2 separate regions of the Homo sapiens genome follow, and region 2 is linked to region 1. The links are contacts of gene promoters, found by promoter capture Hi-C in human tissues and cell types (Jung and others, 2019). All regions are on one chromosome and are shown on one strand. Each heading gives the region's core, a stretch centred on a gene start or on the middle of the fragment in contact. The rest is flanking DNA. Distances are from core to core; before and after follow the strand shown. Region 1 holds the start of CYP2W1 (cytochrome P450 family 2 subfamily W member 1). Region 2 has its middle 29 kb from the start of UNCX.

What was found. The method cuts DNA at HindIII sites, captures the fragments that hold promoters and counts their contacts. A contact is called where the count stands out against the background at its distance.
Region 2: a fragment that was not itself captured here is called in contact with the fragment with the promoter of CYP2W1 in region 1 in 2 of the 25 tissues and cell types used here (aorta and dorsolateral prefrontal cortex).

What each region holds. Positions count from the first base shown.
Region 1 is chr7:979,267-985,173 of GRCh38, forward strand. CYP2W1 (cytochrome P450 family 2 subfamily W member 1) reads left to right here and starts at 3,915. Exons shown (of 9, transcript NM_017781.3): 1 at 3,915-4,119; 2 at 5,146-5,308; 3 at 5,684-5,833; 4 at 5,900-5,907. The coding sequence starts at 3,946. It also overlaps a transcript of CHLSN not described here. The HindIII fragment of the contact is 22,766 bases long and covers 1,174-5,907 here.
Region 2 is chr7:1,200,570-1,206,476 of GRCh38, forward strand. No RefSeq gene overlaps it. Among named protein-coding and RNA genes, the nearest start is that of UNCX, 29 kb to the right of the region's middle. The HindIII fragment of the contact is 9,567 bases long and covers 1-5,907 here.

The DNA of each region.
Region 1 (5,907 bases), core at 2,665-5,164:
GGCCTCAGCTTATCAACGGGTGGCGGAGGCTCTGCACCTGCTCAGGGGGTACCTTAGAGCCAAATGCGATCGTCAAAGTTTCGGTGCAAGAGTCCATCTCGTCATAGATTACAGCCACTGATCCTGTCAGACGTTATCTTATGTGCAGGAGGAGACAAGGGCTAGGATCGTTGACCTTATCTTTTTAAAAAACGCAGTGATTTGGCCGGGTGTGGTGGCTCACACCTATAATCCCAGCACTTTGGGTGGCCACGGTGGGCGGATCATCTGAGGTTAGGAGTTCAAGACCAGCCTGGCCAACATGGTGAAACCCCGTCTCTACTAAAAATACAAAAATTAGCCGGGCGTGGTGGTGAGTGCCTGTAGTCCCAGCTACTCGGGAGGCTGAGGCAGGAGAATCGCTTGAACCTGGGAGGCGGAGGTTGCAGTGAACTCCAGCCTGGGCAACAGAGAGGGAAACTCCGTCTCAAAAAAAAAAAAATGCAGGGATTCAAGCAAGAGCCGTGGGCACCTGCGCCATGCCTGCTCAGTCTCTGGGACATTCTTCCAGGGGGCGCGCCCAGTCACTGAGGCAGGGCGCACACTTTTTTCCGCACAGTTGCAAGGATGCCTTAAACTAAATTTCTGGAAACCGGGTCACTGAGCCAAGGGACAGTTCCTTTTTGATGTCTGGTGGATCTCTAGTACACTGCAAAAGCGTCCCGTGAAACTCCACTGGTGGAATGAGCAAACACGGCTTCTGGCCTCTGCTACTTTGTGTCACAAAGGGGGAAGACCACAAGCCCTCCTGTGGAGGGAGAAGCGCAGTGTTACGTTACGCAAAGACAGTGTGGTTGGGAGAATCTGTGCGGCCATCTCTGGAAGCCGCCATCTGCCACAGCCGACAGGTGCGGGCCTGAGTTTGGAACCAGGTCTGTCTGACTCCAGCCCCTCCGGGGGAGCCCACCTACCCACCCACCTCACCCACCCTGCCTCTGATGTCAGGGGCAGGCAGGACCTGAGCCAGCCAATCACAGCACTGCATTCCTCCTGGTCACAGAGATGGCTCAGGCCTGAGTATCTGTCTGGCAGGCCTGGACCAATCAGGTCTGATCAGAACAGTCCCAAGTTCCACTTGAGCAGCCAGGCTGCAGTTGGCACACGTCTCTGCAGGGCGCTGGAGGTCCACCGGACATCAGAAAGCAACAATGCCTTGGCTCAGCCACCTGGTTTCTAGGAATTTATTTTAAGATATCCTTGCAACTGTGCCCATCCTTGCAAGTATGCACACAGATATTTTTATCAGGATGTTCTGTGACAGCCTAAGATTGGAAACAATGTAAATATGCAAATATGCACACCCGGCCATGCCCCCCAGAGCAAGCAACACGTACAGGCAGCCGTTAGAGGAGTACTGTTAATTCCCCAGTAACAGTTACTTTTTTTTTTTTTTTTTTTTTGAGATGGAGTCTCACTCTGTTGCCCAGGCTGGAGTGCAGTGGTGCCATCTCAGCTCACTGCAAGCTCCGCCTCCCGGGTTCACGCCATTCTCCTGCCTCAGCCTCCTGAGTAGCTGGGACTACAGGCGCCCGCTATCACGCCCGGCTAATTTTTTGTATTTTTAGTAGAGATGGGGTTTTGCCGTGTTAGCCAGGATGGTCTCGATCTCCATCTCCTGACCTCGTGATCCGCCCACCTCAGCCTCCCAAAGTGCTGGGATTACAGGCATAAGCCACTGCGCCTGGCCAACGAGTTACTTTTAAAAGAGGGCTGGGCACTGTGGCTCACGCCTGTAATCCCAGTGCTTTGGGAGGCCAAGGCAGGTGGATCACTTGAGGTCAGGAGCTCGAGATCAGCCTGGCCAACATGGCAAAACCCCATCTCTACTAAAAATACAAAAATTAGCTGAGTGTGGTTGCATATGCCTGTAATCCCAGCTACCCGGGAGGCTGAGGCAGGAGGATCACTTGAACACGGGCGATGGAGGTTGCAGTGAGCCAAGATCATGCCACTGCACTCTAGCCTGGATGACGAGAGTGAGACTCCATCTCAAAAAAAAAAAAAAAGAAAAGAAAAGAAAAAGAGGCCGGCCCGGCATTGGCTCATGCTAGTAATCCCAGCGCTTTTGGAGGCGGCCACAGTAGGATCGCTTGAGCCCAGGAGGAGTTGAAGACCAGCCTCTAGACTCCGTCTCTAAAAGAAACTTACAAAATTCCCAGCACTTTGGGAGGCCGAGGCGGGCGGATCATGATGAGGTCAAGAGATCGAGACTGTCCTGGCCAACATGGTGAAACCCCGTCTCTACTAAAGATACAAAAAGTAGCCAGGTGTGGTGGCATGTGCCTGTAATCCCAGCTACTCGGGAGGCTGAGGCAGGAGAATCGCTCCAACCCGGGAGGCGGAGGTTGCAGTGAGCCGAGATCACGCCATTGTAGTCCAGCCTGGCAACAGAGTGAGATTCCGTCTCAAAAACAACAAAAACCCAAAACTTAAAAAATTAGGCCAGGTGCAGTGGCTTACACCTGCAATCCCAACACTTTGGGAGGTCGAGGCAGGAGGATTGCTTGAACCCAGGAGTGTGAGACCAGCCTGAGCAACGTAGCAGGACCTCCATTTCTACATAAATAAATAAATAAAGTTAGCTAGGCTGGGTGGTGCATGCCTGTAGTCCCAGCTATTTGGGAGGCTGAGGTGGGAGGATGGCTTGAGCCCCGGAGGTGGAGGCTGCAGTGAGCCTGTACTCACAGCACGGTAATCCAGCCTGGGCAACAGAGCAAGACCCTGTCTCAAAAACAAAACACACAAAAATCAAAAGTATTCCCTGAATTAATTAAGTAAGCTTTGCTAGGCAGGTAGGACCCCCAGCCTACCCAGTAGTGGCCCTGGTATGAGGCACTCCCTCCCCGCCGCAGCCGCCCAGCCCTGGCCCTGAGGCTGTACAGCAGGATAGAGGTAGTGAGCTCCCCACCACAGGAGGCGTGCAACTGTGCCTGGGGCTTTCCCTCCCAGCTAATCAAGGGGGACCAACCCGGGAGGGGTGAGGGCCTCAGGCTGCCTCGGCTCTGCGGTTCGTACAGGGCATGGGCAACGCCCCAGAGACAGGCTGTGGGGAGGGTCCCGCCTGCTGGCACCAGCTCCAGCTGCCTCATGTCAGGGCAGGCTGTGCAAAGCAGGCCCGGCCGCTTCTGCTGCCAGCAGCCCTCCCACCCCTCACAGCGGTTTAGGAGACAGATGGACAGGGCTCGTAAACCCCGCCACCTGCCACCCGGCAGCCCTTCCATGTTCCTGTCCTAGCTCAGAGGGTTGCATCCCCTGCCCGGGCGGCAGCCCTCGAAAAGGAGCAGGCTGCTACCTGGGGCGAGAACACCCTCAGGGAGATGCAGGTGGTGGCCTGTGAGGACTGTGGGATTTGAGTCCCCTCATGGGCCTCCCTGAGGTCTCACTCCTGTCCCTTGCCCCGTGGGGAGCTGATCAGAGAAGAGCTGGGTGCACACGGATGGGGTTTGGGAGAGGCCTGCAAACCCTGAGCTCCACAGGGTCCCACTCAGAGCCTGTGAAAGGCAGGGGGCTCCCCTCCAAGCCAGGGCCTCGGCCCCAAAGCCCTGTGAATCCCAGTTCTGAGGGGTGGCCAAGGCCAAGGGGCCTGGACTGGCAGGTTCAGCAGAACCAGGGGCAGAACAGTCCACGTGCCACATCCTTCTCTCTGGCCAGGAGACATGGATGCCTGACCCCAGAGGGCCCCCGTCCTGCCCTCCCCTCCCCGGCCCCACCAGGGCCTCAGCCCCACATTCCACGCAGGCCTGCAGCTTTAAGCCATCCGCTGGGGGCTGCCCTGCAAACTGCTCGTTCCACATTCTCGGGGTGGTGGGGTGGGTGGGGTGCGGGCACGCCCTCCCGCGGAGGCCTATAAGGGTGCGGGGGGGACGGGGCCCAGGAGGGGAGTGGAGCCTCACCAGCCACGTCCTCATGGCCCTGCTGCTCTTGCTGTTCCTGGGCCTCCTGGGGCTCTGGGGGCTGCTCTGCGCCTGCGCCCAAGACCCCTCCCCAGCTGCCCGGTGGCCCCCGGGGCCTCGCCCGCTGCCGCTCGTCGGGAACCTGCACTTGCTGCGTCTGTCGCAACAGGACCGGTCCCTGATGGAGGTAAGTCAGGGAGCCCGGGCAGCTCTTGCCGCTTGGACAGCTGCCGTGTCCTGGCCCCCCTCCTGGGGAAGCCCAGCCCGGTTTCCACTGCCTGTTCCCACATGGTGCCGGGCCCAGCGGGGCACGCAGGAGGCCGGAGGGCCCACCCTGCTTTTGGGAGGGGAAAGCCACCCCGTCCCACAGGGAAGCAGACACACTGAGTACGAAGAAGCCCTGGAGGTGCCACCCAGGGCCCGGCGCGGGAGCAGGAGTCTGGAGGGCTCCCTGGAGGCGGTGGCGTCTGCTGAGAGCCCGCAGGAGGCCAGGCTTAGGGACAGCAGAGGGGAGGAGGGCCTGGGCCTGTCGGCTGCCTGCTCAGCCCCCCTCGGCCCTCAGGTGTTCAACAGCAAACACTTCCCACTTTTGAGCCTCTGTTTCCTCATCTGTGAAATGGGAAGAGGACCTGTGCCTCCTGGGCAGGGATGCTGAGGACAGAGGGTACGGGGACACGGCACGGGGCAGCCTGACTAGCACTGTCGCTCTGTCCTCGCTCAGGCAGGCAGGGTCAGTGGGACAGGGCTGACCAGTCAGGCCCGGGCCCTGCCTCCGGCTGCCCCCAACTGCGGGCTGGGGTGCTGCTGGCCGGGCTGTAGCCGAAGACGGATCAGGGTCTCTGGGGGCCGAGCCTGTCAGGCCCTCACTCTGTGCAGACTCTGGCCTTTCAGAATGTGCCACCCCAGCAGACAGCCAGCCCCCGACCTTGCCGCCTGGACTCAGGGCTTGAGCCCCCCAGGAATTTTGGCTAAAAAGAAAATCCCACAACAGCCATGCCAAGCACCAGATGGCGAGAGGGCTCTGTGGGCTCCAGGCTGGGCGCTGCCCCCTCCACCCTGCACCACTGGCTTTATGGCATCTAGGCGTGCCCCCTCCACCTGCCCCCATTTTCCCTCTGTCCCCACCCCTACCCAGCACAGGCCCGGCCTGAGGGGACCTAAGGGGGGTCTTGTGGGTGAGGGCTGCCCGGGTGACCCCCGCCATCCCTGCCAGCTCTCAGAACGCTACGGGCCGGTGTTCACCGTGCACCTGGGGCGCCAGAAGACGGTGGTGCTGACGGGGTTCGAGGCGGTCAAAGAGGCGCTGGCGGGCCCCGGGCAGGAGCTGGCCGACCGGCCTCCCATCGCCATCTTCCAGCTCATCCAGCGAGGTGGAGGTCGGTGTGTGGCCGGCGCTACGGGGCCTACTGGGTGTGGGGGCACCTGGACCCCAGGAGGGGTGGGGGCTCCAGCAGCGGGAGAGGCTCCCAGGGTGGCCTGGGGAAGAGCAGGCAGGAGCTGGGCCTCCGGGCTGGTGCTGAGAAGGGCCAGGTGTCCACACAGCAGGTCAGGTGCTCAGAACCAGCAAGCGGGGTTCTTTTCATCCCAAGTCAAGAGGGGCCAGGGCCAGCCCAGGGGGACGGGAGTGGGGATGGGGGTGAGGGCCCAGCCAGTCTCGCTGCCCTGTCAGCCTGCTCACTTCCTGCCCACTTGCCTGGCGGGGCTGGCTGGGGTGGGAACCTGGGCTCACCACGCACTGTATCTGCCTACAGGCATCTTCTTCTCATCTGGGGCGCGCTGGAGGGCTGCCCGCCAGTTCACGGTGCGTGCCCTGCACAGCCTGGGCGTGGGCCGGGAGCCGGTGGCTGACAAGATTCTGCAGGAGCTGAAATGCCTCTCTGGGCAGCTGGATGGCTACAGAGGTGAGCAGGGGGCCGGGGACGCCCCTCCCCGGGCCTGGACGTGCCTGAGGCCCGTCTCCCTCGCAGGCCGGCCC
Region 2 (5,907 bases), core at 1,748-4,247, 220 kb after region 1:
TAATCCCAGCACTTTGGGAGGCCAAGGCACACGATCACCTGAGGTCAGGAGTTTGAGACCAGCTTGGGCAGCATGGTGAAACTCCATCTCTATTAAAAATACAAAAATGAGCCAGGCATGGTCGTGGGTGCCTGTAATCCCAGTTACTTGGGAGGCTGAGGCAGGAGAATTGCTTGAACCCAGGAGGTAGAAGTTGCAGTGAGCTAAGATCATGCCACTGTACTCCAGCCTGGGTGACAGAGCGAGACTCCGTCTCAAAAAAGCAACAACAGGCCAGGCACAGTGGCTCATGCCTGTAATCCCAGCACTTTGGGAGGCTGAGGCGGGCGGATCACGAGGTCAGGAGATCGAGACCATCCTGGCTAACACAGTGAAGCCCCATCTCTACTAAAAATACAAAAAAAAATTAGCCAGGTGTGGTGGCAGGCGCCTGTAGTCCCAGCTACTTGGGAGACTGAGGCAGGAGAATGGCGTGAACCCAGGAGGTGGAGCTTGCAGTGAGCCGAGATGGCACCACTGCGCTCCAGCCTGGGTGACAGAGCGAGACTCCGTCTCAAAAAAAAAAAAAAAAAAGAAGCAACAACACAAAAAAAAACCCAAAACCAGGAGTGCTTCCTCTTCCTTGCAAAGTTGTGCAGAAGATGTGCAGCTGTGAATGCTGCAGCTTGGCCATGCAGGCCACGGCCACATTTGCCACTTCTGCAGTGGAAATGATACCGGAGTACTGGGAAGGGAAGAGTGTGAACCCTTTCAATGATACAGGAGGGAAGTGCTGGGTAGAGAAAGGCAGGTCCCTGGCTAGGGCTCCACCCCCATGGACCTAGGTGAGGACAGGGATTTCCTGCCCCAATGTTGCATTTCCCAAGACCACCCTGGCCCGCCATGCCCCCATCCTGGGCCTCTGAAAACCTGAGACCCTAGCGGGCAGACACACAGGTGGCCAGAGGTGGAGAGGAGCACATCGGAGGAAGAAGATGCATGTGGCTGGTCGTCGAGAGGAGCACGCCAGCCAGGAGGGCTCACCGACAGACTCTGGCACGCTGGCCGACCATCGATCCATCAACCGGGGCAGTCAGAGGAGAGCTGGGCCCCCCGAGAGGCCCATCTCCAGGGAAAGACCATCTCCCTTCTGGCTTAATAAAACCACCTCCACTCAATAAAACTTTGCACTCATTCTCCCAGCCCAAGTGTGATCCTTCTGGTACACCAAGGCAAGAACCTGGGATGCAGAAAGCCCTCTGTCCTTGGGGCAAGGTAGAGGGTCGAATTGAGCTGGTTAACACAAGCTGCCTATAGGGCACCCTGGAACACACGCCCACTGGGGCCTCAGGAGCTGGAAACATCCAGCCTTAGACACTGCCGTGGGGTGGGAGCCCCACAGCCTGCCCGTCTGTATGCTCCCCTGGAGGTTGAGAGCGGGGTACTGAGGAAGCGAGACACATCTCATCACACATCCTGCGAGGGGGACAAGGGAACCTTTCCAGTTTCAGAGACGGCCCTGCCACATCGCCCGGGTGCATCTCTGTGGCTGTGAAAGTGAGAGCCGGAGGTCCCGGGGAGCAGAGGTCGTGAGGCCTCTGTGCTGGCTTCTCGGTATTCCTGTCTTGGTATTCCTGGCAGTTTGGTCCCCTGGAGGTGGCCATGTGGCATGGACAGGGGCCTCTATGCAGAGGCTTTTTCAGCAACTGTGCTGTGCTGCCGCCATGGCCACCTCCGTTGTCATCATCCAAAGGCACCTGCCGTCCACAGCACGGAAGCACGCTCAGGCACTACTTTTTTTATTTTTTATTTTTTACTTTTTTCTGAGATGCAGTCTTGCTCTGTTGCCTAGGCTGGAGTGCAGTGCAGTGACCTCACTGCAACCTCCTCCTCCTGGGTTTGAGCGATTCTCCCACCTCAGCCTCCCGAGTAGCTGGGACTACAGGTGCCCGCCACCATGCCAGGGTAATTTTTGTATTTTTACAAGAGACGGGGTTTTGCCATGTTGGCCAGGCTGGTCTCAAAGTCCTGAGCTCAAGTGATCCGCCTGCCTCAGCCTCTCAAAGTGCTGGGATTACAGGTGTGAGCCATTGCACCCAGCCTATATTTTTCTTTCTTTTTTTTTTTTTTTTTTTTTTTGAGATGGAGTCTTGCTCTGTCACCCAGGCTGGAGTGCAGTGGCGTGATCTTGGCTCACTGCAAGCTCCGCCTCCTGCGTTCACACCATTCTCCTGCCTCAGCCTCCCGGGTAGCTGGGACTACAGGCGCCCGCCACCATGCCTGGCTATTTTTTGTATTTTTAGTAGAGATGAGGTTTTACCATGTTAGCCAGGATGGTCTCAATCTCCTGACCTCGTGATCTGCCCGCCTTGGTCTCCCAAAGTGCTGGGATTACAGGCGTGAGCCATTGCACCTGGCACGCCCAGCCTATTTTTAATTTTTTAGAGGTGGAGTCTCACTGTGTTGCCCCGGCTGGTCTTGAACTCCCAGGCTCAAGCAATCCTCCCACCTCAGCCTCCCAATTATCTGTGACCACAGGTGTGTGTCACCTTGCCCAGATAATTTTAAAATTTTTCCTTTGTAGAGATGGGGTCTTGCTATGTTGTCCAGGCTGGTCTCAAACTCCTGGGCTTAAGCGATCCTCCTGCCTCCGCCTCCCTAAGTGCTGGGGTTACAGGCCTGAGCCACTGTGCCCAGCCTGCAAATTCTTTCCCTTCTTTCTTCCCCAAACTGCCACAGTAGTGTCATGCAGAATATACTTAAAACAGAGGGTCCCTAGTTTCTTATTTTTAGTCCCGATGAAAAGAGAATAGCACTTCACTAGTGAGAATCTGTGGAGCAGTAGAAGAAGAAGGTTTACACTATGCAATTACCAAAGTACAATGGCCTGCACTGACTGAAAGCTGACTTGAGAAGCCATTGAATGGGGCTAATTAATATGTGAAAATTCAAATTTGACATATTTGTGCAAAAGAGGTTGTGCAGCAGAGGCCGGGCGCGGTGGCTCACGCCTGTAATCCCAGCACTTTAGGAGGCCGAGGTGGGAGGATCACCTGAGGTCAGGAGTTCAAGACCAGCCTGGCCAACATGGTGAAACCCCCGTCTCTGCTGAAAATACAAAAATTAGCCGGGTGTGGTGGTGCATGCCTGTAACCCAGCTACTCGGGAGGCTGAGGCAGGAGAATCGCTTGAACCTGGGAGGCGGAGGTTGCAGTGAGCCGAGATTGTGCCATTGCACTCCAGCCTGGGGTACAAGAGCAAGACTCCGTCTCAAAAAAAAAAAAAAAAAAAAGAAAAAAAAGAGATTGTGCAACAGAAAGAAGCCAAATCACATTTAACCTAAAGGGGGCAGCAATTTATTCTCTCTAAGGTTGGAAGGAGTGTTCCTCAGAACCACGGGCGCTGAGGGAGATCTGGAAATGTATGTAAGTTACCGTCACAAGGCACAGATACATGGGAAGACATGACACATTCAGATTTTAGCAATACTTATAAACTCCAACAACAGGTGACGGAGGGAAAAGAGCCGCGGGTAAATTTCGATAGTGATTTAGGCTGGCCGAATGTGAAAATTTTCTCTTTAGTATTCAAATTTGTCAAGTAATTTACTCTGAACTCCCAAATAATAAACAAAATGTGAAATAAATAAGACTGGCCAGGTTGGGCGAGGTGGTTCACACCTGTAATCTCAGAACTTTGGGAGGCTGAGGCACACAGATCACTTAAGGTCAGGAGTTCGAGACCAGCCTGGCCAACATGGTGAAAACCTGTCTCTACTAAAAATACAAAAAATTAGCCAGGCGTGGTGGTGGGCGCCTGTGATCTTACCTACTCAGGAGGCTGAGGCAGGAGAATTGCTGGAACCAGGGAGGTGGAGGTTGCAGTGAGCCCAGATCATGCCATTGTACTCCAGCCTGGGTGACAGAGTGAGGCTCTGTCTCAAAAAAAAAAAAAAAAAATTAAGTAAGGCTGGCCAGAGACCCAGGGGAGGGATGCATGCCAGCCACTCCGCCCAGGCACCTCACTCTGTTTTTGTTTTAGATCTGAGCCTTTGAGGCCAGGGCTGGCTGGACAAATGCCCCCAAAACAGCACGTGTGCACTCCTCCATTGGCAGCCAACCGGGCTTTGCTGGAGCTGTGCGTGTGTGCGTGTGCGTGCGTGTGTGTGTGCGTGTGCGTGCGTGTGTGTGTGTATGTGTGTGTGTGTGCATGGCTAAGGATTTCGGAGAGCAAGACAGTTCCCCTGTAACTCTGATTCTATAAAAAATATGCTGCTTGCAGTCAGGGAGCGGGGTTTCTTTCTGCCCCTCCTGGGCTGTGTGAGGGGCTCCGTATTTATTCTGGCAAGCCTCACAAGTGGTGTTGCCGCGAATTTCTGGTAGCGTCTGGGCTCAGCTGTGCTGGGTGGGGCCTTCTTGGGTTCCAGGCCTTCTTGCCGGAGTTCATTTAAAACCATGATTGGTGACACCAGGAAGAGAACAGCACCAGAGCACAAGTCCTCAGCTGCGCATTTTGGTTTAAGAAAATAGATGACCTCCAGGGACACCAAGCAGCGACTTCATTTTAAATAGAACCACCCACAGATTCTGGTGTTACCTGAAAATCTAAAAGATGTAATTATGAGTGTTCATAGCATTAGTTGACAAGGGTCTGAAAATACTGAAGATAGCTTTCTTTCTTTCTTTTTCTTTTTCTTTCTTTCTTTTTTGAGACAGTTTTGCTCTTGTCGCCCAGGCTGGAGTGCAATGGCATAGTCTCAGCTCACTGCAACCTCTGCCTCCTGGGTTCAAGCAATTTTCCTGTCTCAGCCTCCCAAGTAGCTGGGATTACAGGTGCCCACCATCACACCTGGCTAATTTTTGTGTGTTTTTTTGTATTTTCTTTTTTAGAGAGAGTCTTACTATGTCACCCAAGCTGGAGTGCAGTGGCGCAATCTCTGCTCACTGCAAGTTCCACCTCCCAGGCTCAAGTGATTTCTCCTGCCTCAGCCTCCCGAGTAGCTGGGATGACAGGTGCCTGCCACCAGGCCTGGCTAATTTTTTTTTTGAGACAGAATCTCGCTCTGTTGCCCAGGCTGGAGTGCAGTGGTGCCATCTCGGCTTACTGCAACCTCTGTCTCCTAGGTTCAAGTAATTCTCCTGCCTCAGCCTCCGGAGTAGCTGGGATTACAGGCACCCACCACCACGCCCAGCTAATTTTTGCATTTTTAGCAGAGGTGGGGTTTTGCCATGTTGGCCAGGCTGATCTCAAACACCTGACCTCAGGTGATCCACCCACCTCGGCCTCCCAAAATGCTGGCATTACAGGCGTGAGCCACCACGCCCGGCCTAGGCCTGGCTAATTTTTGTATTTTTAGTACTTATGGGGTTACACTCTGTTGGCCAGGCTGGCCTCAAATTCCTGACCTCAGGAGATCCGCCCACATTGGCCTCCCACAGTGCTGGGATGACAGGCATAAGCCACCACGCCCAGCCTCAAGATAGCTTTCGAGGATTGCACAGGAAAAAAAAAAAATCCCAAACACTCAAACAAATTTGATATCCTTCAACTGAAACCAAGTTCTGTGACATCTGTTGCAACCATGTTTCCAAGCTTCAGTCATTCACACGCCCCGCGCTCAGCCATAGCCACATCCCCAGACCACCTGTATGATCAACTATGATATGTGTTTTTTAAACCAATTTGCTCTTTTAGCTTAAATAAATTCACTTGAGATGAAGCTCTACCTCACTGCTGTAGAATTACACTGTTGGGAGGACGGCAGTGCCCCCTGATTTGAGGTTTTGCTTTCTATTGTTTCAGTCTGAAAATGTTACAGTATCTTGGGAGAGAAAGACTACATTCGCGGGGAGGGAGGAGGGATAGCATTAGGAGATATACCTAATGCTAAATGACGAGTTAATGGGTGCAGCACACCAACATGGCACA